Regions from separate parts of the Homo sapiens genome. Here all the other regions are linked to region 2. The links are contacts of gene promoters, found by promoter capture Hi-C in blood cells and fetal thymus (Javierre and others, 2016). All regions are on one chromosome and are shown on one strand. The core of a region is centred on a gene start or on the middle of the fragment in contact, and the rest is flanking DNA. Distances in the headings are between cores, read along the strand shown.

Region 1 (2,950 bases), core at 272-2,771, 930 kb before region 2:
AGAAAAAAACAAATAGCTCCACACTTTTCAACTACTGTTAGGAGTAATATTCTAAACTCAAAAGTAACTTAAATCCATTTTATCCTATCTTACCTCACTTTGTGAAAGAGAAACCTTATAACAAACCACAATTCTTTTGTTTTTACAAAGGAAAAAATTAGAAAACATAAGTTACTTTTCTAGTAGAAAAAGGAAATAACGAATACTGAAATGTGGGAAATATGAACGGTAATGAATATATTTTAAGGTAAATATCCAAGGTATTATTTGGTCAATCAGAAACTTAGAATCTGAATAATGCCTAAAGTTTCAACGCTAAACAAGGTAAATGAATTATTCTTTATTTCCAGTAACAAGACAAGAGAAAATGAGTGCCTGGGTCTACAATCAGCAACTGCTGATTCTGAACTTAAGTGACTTTTTTTTTTTTTTTTCTGATAAAGGATGAAGAAATTTTGAATATAATCTAACAAACCACATGAAAATGTTAAACAATTTTTCCTTTTCATATTCCATCTGATCCCAGTCAAGAGTAAAGAGAATATGAGTCAAGAGAAAATAAAATTAAACATTAAGCATTTGCTTCTCTGGGTGGAATGGCTTAAAGCTTTCCCTCCCAAGGTCTAGGAAACTTGCTTTTTTAAAAAAAAAGTTTTCCTAAGGATTTTTCTACATTTTAATGCAATTTTAGAAATTTTTTTAGATTTCCAACAAATATAAGATAAACCGTTTTGGAAAGTATGAATAATTCCAGAAACAGAGACTTTGTTTCTAGGCCATGAAACTTAATTTCCTCTTAATATTCACTTACCTACAGCCCAAACTCTCCATGTATTTTGCCAGATATTACTTATGAGCTACAAACAGGGCAATTACTTTTTCTGCTTCATGAGATTACTCATACACACACAAAAAAAGCATTTTAAGGCTGCTGCTGCTGATTGCATCTGAGGCCACAGAAGTTACCCTGCGCCTTCCTCTGAAGACACAAAGCAAACTTTCCTTTCTCCTGATTCGGGTAATTTCCACCACAGAACAGCTTTTCCATAGCAGTAATAAACTAGTTTGGGAATCTTTGGAAGCCAAACAACAATAAAATACAAAAAATGTAGATGGCATATGGCTGGTGTTAGTCTGTTTTCCCTTCAAGTTCTTCCCGGTTTTTGATAGCTTCATAAGGGCCTAATTGTTGGCAGCACCAAAATAAAAGATTTTTAAACTTTATACTTACTAAGTGCTTTTTGTCATTTCCTCACCTCTCTATACATTCCTACCTGATCACCAAATTATTATGGAGATTTGAACAGTGCTTGGCTTATAGTATTCAGTAAATGTTGATAACAATTGTCATTATCCAGAGACAGAAAATATGTTCAATATTTAAATCTTAACCTATTTTTATCAATGATTACTTGAGAAAATCAAGTGTAATTCAAGCTGAACTCTTTCAAATTGTAGGACATGTTTATTTTTAAGCCTAAATGTTATGTCTCTCTAGCCTAGCTATATAAAATAGCCTTTCTCTCAAAGCCAATGCTAGGGCAAGAAAATGGACAGGGGACTAGATTAAAAGAACTGAGAGAAACATAAAAAAAAAAAATGCAATTGAAACCTGATTGGCTCTAGATCCAAATAAAAATCTACACACTTTGGAATATGGGCTGGATATGGCTGACATTACAGAATTATTCATTTTATTAGGTATTATAATGGTATTGTGGTTATAAAGGAGGATGTCCTCAATCTTAGAAAATGTAGGCTGAAATATTTAGGGGCGAAGTACTGTGACCTCGTCACCTTATTTTCAAATGTTTCAGCAAAAAGTTATATATTTAAATAGAAAAAGCAAATGTGGCACAATATTAACAACTCATGAATTTAACTGAAGAGTTTATTATACTTTCAACTTTTCTGCAGATGTAACATTTTTTAAATAAAAAGTTGAGAATAAAAAAATCACAAAAATAGTTTTGCTGAAGAAAATACCACACATTCCTTTTTACTATAATATTTAATATAATAATATACACTTATACATTGGTATTATTTACACTTCATTAAAAAAAACCCATTCAACCTGAAATTAACTACCTTAAACACACTATTTAACTTTCAGTGCTAATGTATTAATTTCTTAAATATAAATCAAAATAGCTCAATATCTAAATTACTGATAACTAGATGCAGATGTAAGGATCATGAATCAATACTTCCATTAAGTTAAAAATATCAATAATTTTTTGCAACATTTCTTCTTTGTTTTTCTTCTTTGTCTAGAATAGTCTGTTTTAAGCTCAAAGTAGCATCTTGAAATCCAGGATTTAAGTCTAAGACCTTCTTGAAATCTTCCAAAGCATCATCAAAATATCCTGTACCAGAACCCAAAAAATGGAAAAGAGAAAAGAAACCGAGTATTTCTATATATTATTCATGGAAAAGCTTTGATACATGTACTTTTGCTTTTATATTTATGAGCTTTCAGTCACTTCTAGTAAAGGAATCTTTTTATCTTAATAATATAGAGATGTGTATATCAAAGTAATTTTGTGTGCCCTTAGGGAATAATACACCTAAAATTAGCTATGGGTTTATTTATTGAGATTTAACAGGTAAATATTATCAATCATCTTAAAATTTTAATAAAACTGTATCACCTGTTTTACATAATTGCAGTAAAATTAAGAAACGGGAACTAATTTTCTTTTTGACACTTTAAATGAAGAAACACTACCTATGGTCCCTTTAATCCAAGAATCTAAACTTCACTTTCTATTGTCTTGTGTGTCTTCAAAGATTTTAACTCAGAAAAGTTTCACAGGTGAACATCTGAATTGCCCTCATTTCACAGCTGGGAATGCACAAGCACAAAGTAATGGGGTCACCCCTGCTCCTGCGCCCAGGTCCAATTCCCACCCCAGTGCTCTGCTGTGATCTATAACGCCTATCAAAA
Region 2 (3,204 bases), core at 395-2,894:
TCCTTTGTAGGGACATGGATGAAGCTGGAAACCATCATTCTCAGCAAACTATCGCAAGGACAAAAAACCAAACACCACATGTTCTCACTCATAGGTGGGAATTGAACAATGAGAACACTTGGACACAGGAAGGGGGAGATCACACACCGGGGCCTGTTGTGGGGTGGGGTGAGTGGGGAGGGATAGCATTAGGAGATATACCTAATGTAAATGACAAGTTAATGGGTGCAGCACACCAACATGGCACATGTATACATATGTAACAAACCTGCACGTTGTGCATATGTACCCTAGAACTTAAAGTATAATTTTAAAAAAATTAAAAAAAAGAAAGAAAAAATCCTCCAGTCTGAAGGCATTAAGTTATCAAAAAGCAAAATATTAAAATATAAAATTTTAGATGGGCACCCACTGTGTTGCCCTGATTATCCCCCTAGAATGCTACATGCTGGAAAGAGGGGCCTTAGCAGGTTTCTAAGTCTTTAACCTTCAGGTGGAAAAATGGGGAAACACACAAGAGACACTCCTACGTATAGTTTCAGAAAGAAGTTTAATTAAAAAACAGCTTTTGAGAATAAACATTCTGGAGATGCTTCTAAATCTTCTGGGTTTCTTTTGGTTGTATCTCTTTCTCCATACAGATTTGTTCTTTCAACTCAAGGACTATCAACTCTTTTTTTTTTTTTGAGACTGAGTCTCACTTTGTCGCCCAGGCTAGAGTGCAGTGGCGCCATCTCGGCTCACTGCAAGCTCCACCTCCCGGGTTCACGCCATTCTCCTGCTTCAGTCTCCCGAGTAGCTGGGACTACAGGCGCCCGCCACCACGCCCGGCTAATTTATTTATTTATGTATTTATTTTTGTATTTTTAGTAAAGATGGGGTTTCACCGTGTTAGCCAGGATGGTCTCGATCTCCTGACCTCCTGATCCGCCCGCCTCGGGGTCCCAAAGTGCTGGGATTACAGGCGTGAGCCACGGCGCCCGGCCAGGACTATCAACTCTTGTGTTTGGTACACAGGACACAAAGCAGGTGTCCGGTAACTACTTGCGAGGGAAGATACGAATTAACCAAGGAATAAAGTGTTCCAATCTGCATTCTGTCTTGCGTGGGGAACAAAACCAAACTAAGACCCAAGGATGAGGGTTTACGGTTAAGGTCTTCAGCGTGAATAAAAGGCGGCGTGAGCACTAAACGCCGGGGGCAAAGAACACTCCCGGCCCAGAGTTTGACCCCTCCTAGCGAGTTCTTCCCGGCCAGCTGCCCAACTTTTTGGCCTCTACTCCTCCGCGGGGGCACCATAAGACTCCCTACAGGTGGGCTACACTTAGGGGTTCAAATGCTGCATTACCGCGCTCGGGTGAGCGACTGCCCGGCCTGCAACTCAAGGGACTCCCAGGCCAAGTGGCTCCGAACTCGCGAGCTGTCGGAACAGTATTATTTTTGCTGCTACGGGCCATCTGGCCCAGGGCAACAGGGGCTCTGCGAGGAACCATAGAGAAGAAGGGGCGCCAGATCCCGCGTGCCTGCCCACCCGTCCTTCCTTTGGGCAGTCACCCTGAGCTCGGCAAGCTGTACCTCACCTGTCCACCTGGAAGGCTGCCCGCTCTCCCTGAGGGTCCTGGGAAGGCGGCACGAGACCGGAAGTGCCCCCCTCAGGTGACGTCACAGTACCGCGCCGGAGCTGATCCGGGAAGCCGATGTCAGCCTGGCGCGCGGCGCACAGCTGGCTGGGAGATTTCTTACTGGCTTGGAGCCGGTGGTCCAGATCAGAGAGACCTCTTGGAGGGTGTCGGGGTTTTCCTTTCTTTTTCATTTGAATTTTATCCGCCTTTTATTTTCTGTCATCCTTGATGTGCTTCTGGCTTCTGGCTTCCCTTTCCTTCTCTCTCATTTGTTCCATGTCTGCCCCTCTTTTCTCCCTCTTCCCATTTCCCTCTTTCTGCGTTACTAGTTGCATATCTTCCCCACATACACAGGAAAGTTGATTCTCATTTGATCATGTTCATAAGCATGATCAATAAAGTATTTTTTTAATTAAGGTGTTGCCAACTTTAAGAAAATTCAGAGAATAATATTAAGTATAGAGTTTATTTGGGCTCAGTGCTTGAGAATGGCCACTCAGGAGCTTAGATTCAAGTTGCCTTGAATATACACTCCAATTAGCAGCAGTCGGAGTAGGTTTTTTTTTTTTTTTTTTTTTTTTTTTGAGACGGAGTCTTGCTCTGTCGCCCAGGCCGGACTGCGGACCGCAGTGGCGCAATCTCGGCTCACTGAAAGCTCCGCTTCCCGGGTTCACGCCATTCTCCTGCCTCAGCCTCCCGAGTAGCTGGGACTACAGGCGCCCGCCACCGCGCCCGGCTAATTTTTTGTATTTTTAGTAGAGACGGGGTTTCACCTTGTTAGCCAGGATGGTCTCGATCTCCTGACCTCATGATCCACCCGCCTCGGCCTCCCAAAGTGCTGGGATTACAGGCGTGAGCCGGTTTTTAAGGAAAGGAGAGGAGGCAGAGCTTAACTTGTTTACCAAGAATTTATATTTAAAAAACTTAAGCTATTGACTGGCTATGCTTTCTTCCTTGTATCACAAATTCCAGGAACATAAAGATAATGGGTGAGGCAGCTAATAAAGAACAAAATGCCTTTAACAATTGCCCTAAGGCATGGGAAGGCGTGGCGGAAGCCAGTATTCACTTCTGTCCGGGTCTAATAAATTTTGCATACCTCACATAGCTCAGACAGCTCTGGGCTATTTTTCTTTTCTTAGTATGTACTTTTTTTAGACATAATACTGTTGTACACAATAATCTACAGTACAGTGTAAATATAAATTTTATATGCACTGGGAAACCAAAAAAATTCTGTGAACTGCCTTATTGTGATGTTTGCTTTATTGTGGTAGTATGGAACTGAACCCCCAATATCTTCAAAGTATGCTTGGATTTAAAAAAGAGGTTTACTTAGCTCATGGTTCTGCACATTGGAAAGCTCAAGGGGCATAGTGTGAGCATCTGCTCAGTTCTGGTTAGAGTTTTTTGTGCAGTGTCACAACATGGTAGAAGGTCAAAGGGGAAGCTGATACATGTGAAAACAGACCAAACAGGAGGTGGAAAACAACCCACTCTCTCAGGGACTCTCTCTTTTCCAATCTCTCAAGAGCTGTTATCAAACCAAACTGGAGTCCAATTGCCTGTGCAGCAAGACCAA
Region 3 (3,180 bases), core at 231-2,730, 910 kb before region 2:
AATAATCTTGATGAAATAGTGCAAAGGTCTGGTCTTTAGCCACAAAATGGGAATTCATGAGAAATAAACAGAGAACATTATTAGCTATGTAAAAGACATAAGAAATGATCCATTATGGATCACAACTGTTTATCTTTCAAATTAATAATAAATGAAAACAGACGCATATCAAGAAAAAATCACTCCCTCAACAATACTTGTGTAAATAAACGGTCCAACTTAGTGACAATGTTTCAACAGAAGCTATAACTACAAAATGGATATTTCTGTTTAAGTTATCTTCATTATAAATAGAGGCAAGTTTTCTGCACAATCATATGAAAGTGTAAATTCCAAATGCCATCTCTTAAATGAGACTAAAAGGACAGGTTTTAAAATAGAAGAATAGGGCTATTAGAAACAATTCAGATTGTAAAAAATGTCTTAAAATGCCATCGCCTCACTTCTGAAAATACAATAAAGAAGACATTCGACACTTATTTAATTAAATATGGCTATAGAGAAAGCTCATTTCATTATTACAATTGTTTAACTTCCTTGTAACATGGGTTATAAAAATTCTCTAAATTCAACTTTGCCCCACTCCCATGCTTCCCCCACTCCCTACTCCCTTCAAGATTTTTTAATGAATTCAGTTACCTTGACACTGTGAGAAAAAAATTTATTTGGAATATTTCCATGGTATCATGTAACCAAAAACAAGATAAACAAAAGAGAGAGGGTGAGAGAAAACATGGTTGATTTTCATACATTTATATGAAAATCGGCCTTATTATTTCACAGTTGTATTGCCATAAAAATTATTTTATTAACATATATTTTGTGCAAAAATTCAACTATAAATAATGAGGCTGATTTTCATACAAAACTCACAGAAATAAACCTTATTACATATACAGCATATAGCCATGTATATATGCTACATATATTTTACAGTTATATACAGTTTATCATTCCTTTATCCCACTGGACTATGGCATAAGGGGCAGAAGCTGTAGTGGCTTATTTCCTGAGCAAGGACACCGTGTTTGCATACACTGCACATCCAGAATTGATACTCAGTGATTGGGCTTCCTGTGGCAACGCATGTTGGCAGTTTCCCTTCTCCACTGTAAAACGGGGAGAAACAATTCATTATACTTTAAAACTTCTCATTAGTCTAACTTTATTTAATACACTTAAAAAAAACCTAAAGAATAAAACTTCTGAGATGAACATCAAATACTTTCATTTAAAAAAGTTATTTCAAGAAAAAACCTTTCTTACAATGACAAAATAAAGCATGAATACACTTGTAAAAATAAATAAAATAGGGTATAATGTTAATGTGAATTGCTTCAAAATTCAGTGCTTTAATTCCTACATTAAACATTGTACATCTAGAAATCCAAGCTTCTAATAAGATAGAATGGCATCCACTAATTAAAATTAGCCTACCCTTCCATAAGGCTGTCCAATTCAGGTTTTCTGTTATCTTTTGAAGTATGTTTGGTGAAGATTTCTAAAGCAAGGTCTTCATACTGCTGTTTCTGTTCTGAACTGAGGGTCTCTAAAGATTTAAGTTTAATGAAAGCTTTTGAACAAGTCCCAAAGGCTCTGCTGGCGCATGCGCAGAGTGCTAGCAGAGAGTAGATCTCCACAGGAGGGATGATGTCTTCATAGTCTTTCAGGTGAAGAGCTAAGAAAAACAGGGCAATTGGGGTTTTTTAAAATAATTATTATGATATCATGAACATGCAAAAGAAGAATCTAAGTTAAGGTGATTTCATTGAACTTGCATGAACGAACTGAAAGCAAACAGTGTTGAGAGATGGGAGCACCAAGAGGAGGAACTAGGCTACATGATATCCAAGGTTCTGTGAAGCTGGCTAACAGCTCATCCTATGAAAAGAACCACCACCAAATGCTGCACATGGCTGTGCCAGCTCAGAAATACACACACACACACAAAATTTTGGTGTCAAAACATCCACATTTTCTTCAATTTATGTTAGAAATTTCTGTGGCACTTCATAAAAAGCAAATGAGTATTATACTATGTTAGTCATAAACTGCAAGATAATACCATGTTTCCTTTTGTTAAAAAAAAAGCAAAACAATATAAGCAAAACAGTATAAAATAATATGTTCTTTTCTCTGTGTTTCTTTGGACAGATTATTGCTTTTGTATTACTGCTTTTGTCATTTGTCTCACTGAAACAATAGGATTTTGTGAAAAAGTGAAAATGAGTCTCCAAGTTGTCAGTTGAGACAATTCAAGTTACAACATCTTATTTGCAATTATACTGGAGATGAAAAAATCTTTCTTTAAAATGCACTGTATTCTTGGGCCTGTTGGGGGTGGGGGGCTAGGGGAGGGATAGCATTAGGAGAAATACCTAATGTAGATGACGGTTGATGGGTGCAGCAAACCACCATGGCACATGTATACCTATGTAACAAGCCTGCACGTTCTGTACATGTACCCCAGAACTTAAAGTATAATAAAAAAAGCAGACTTAATATTAGATTTAATATTAAGATTTAATATTAGATTTATAACCAATTTGTATCTTTTTCTTCTCTAGACCTTGGAATCTTAAAAATACTTTGTTATAGTATATCAAAAACTTCATAAAACCAGTTTAAACAATATATTCATGTGTTTTACAATCAGAATCCTATAAACTGGTTCTGGGGTCAAGTATTTACAACAAAGTGTAGTAGAAAAAATGTATATAAAATGTAATCACTCAGTTACAATAAACAATATCCTCTAATTTCATATCCAAAGCATGATAGGTTCAAGGGTAATAATTTACAGGTCATACATTGTTTCAGATCGTCTTACCACTGACAAAAAAAAAAAAAATGAGGCATATAGAGATCTTCACCTAGTAGGTGAAGCATCTCAAGTTAAAGATCTAATTGTTCTTTTAAGTCTAGAAATGGTGTATAAATTGAATATGATACAGCTATTTTAAACAGTGTATAATTTATGTCACATATTAGTTAAAACTAAATGAAGGTCAGTTATAAAATAAACATAAAAATAATTTTTATATATAACTAATAACCAATTAGAAAAAAAATTTACAACCTCATTAATGACAACAAAACTAGGAATAAACTGAAAAATAAACCTTTAGAGCCAGCAAGAAGAAAACTACAAATCTTTAGAAACACAGATACATAAGTGAT

What was found. The method cuts DNA at HindIII sites, captures the fragments that hold promoters and counts their contacts. A CHiCAGO score of 5 or more calls a contact.
Region 1: a fragment that was not itself captured here is called in contact with the fragment with the promoter of LDAH in region 2 in 1 of 17 cell types (total CD8 T cells); the score reaches 6.4 in total CD8 T cells.
Region 3: a fragment that was not itself captured here is called in contact with the fragment with the promoter of LDAH in region 2 in 3 of 17 cell types (total B cells, naive B cells and total CD8 T cells); the score reaches 6.1 in total B cells.

Annotation. Positions count from the first base shown.
Region 1 is chr2:19,894,758-19,897,707 of GRCh38, forward strand. It overlaps TTC32 (tetratricopeptide repeat domain 32), which reads right to left. Exons shown (of 3, transcript NM_001008237.3): 3 at 1,874-2,369. The coding sequence ends at 2,230. Among named protein-coding and RNA genes, the nearest start is that of TTC32, 5.8 kb to the right of the region's middle. The HindIII fragment of the contact is 1,832 bases long and covers 606-2,437 here.
Region 2 is chr2:20,821,457-20,824,660 of GRCh38, forward strand. It overlaps LDAH (lipid droplet associated hydrolase), which reads right to left and starts at 1,645. Exons shown (of 7, transcript NM_021925.4): 1 at 1,581-1,645. RefSeq lists enhancers at 521-1,346, 1,149-1,218, 1,439-1,828. The HindIII fragment of the contact is 14,255 bases long and covers 1-3,204 here.
Region 3 is chr2:19,912,600-19,915,779 of GRCh38, forward strand. WDR35 (WD repeat domain 35) reads right to left here. Exons shown (of 27, transcript NM_020779.4): 26 at 1,438-1,678; 27 at 1-1,109. The coding sequence ends at 959. Among named protein-coding and RNA genes, the nearest start is that of TTC32, 12 kb to the left of the region's middle. The HindIII fragment of the contact is 181 bases long and covers 1,391-1,571 here.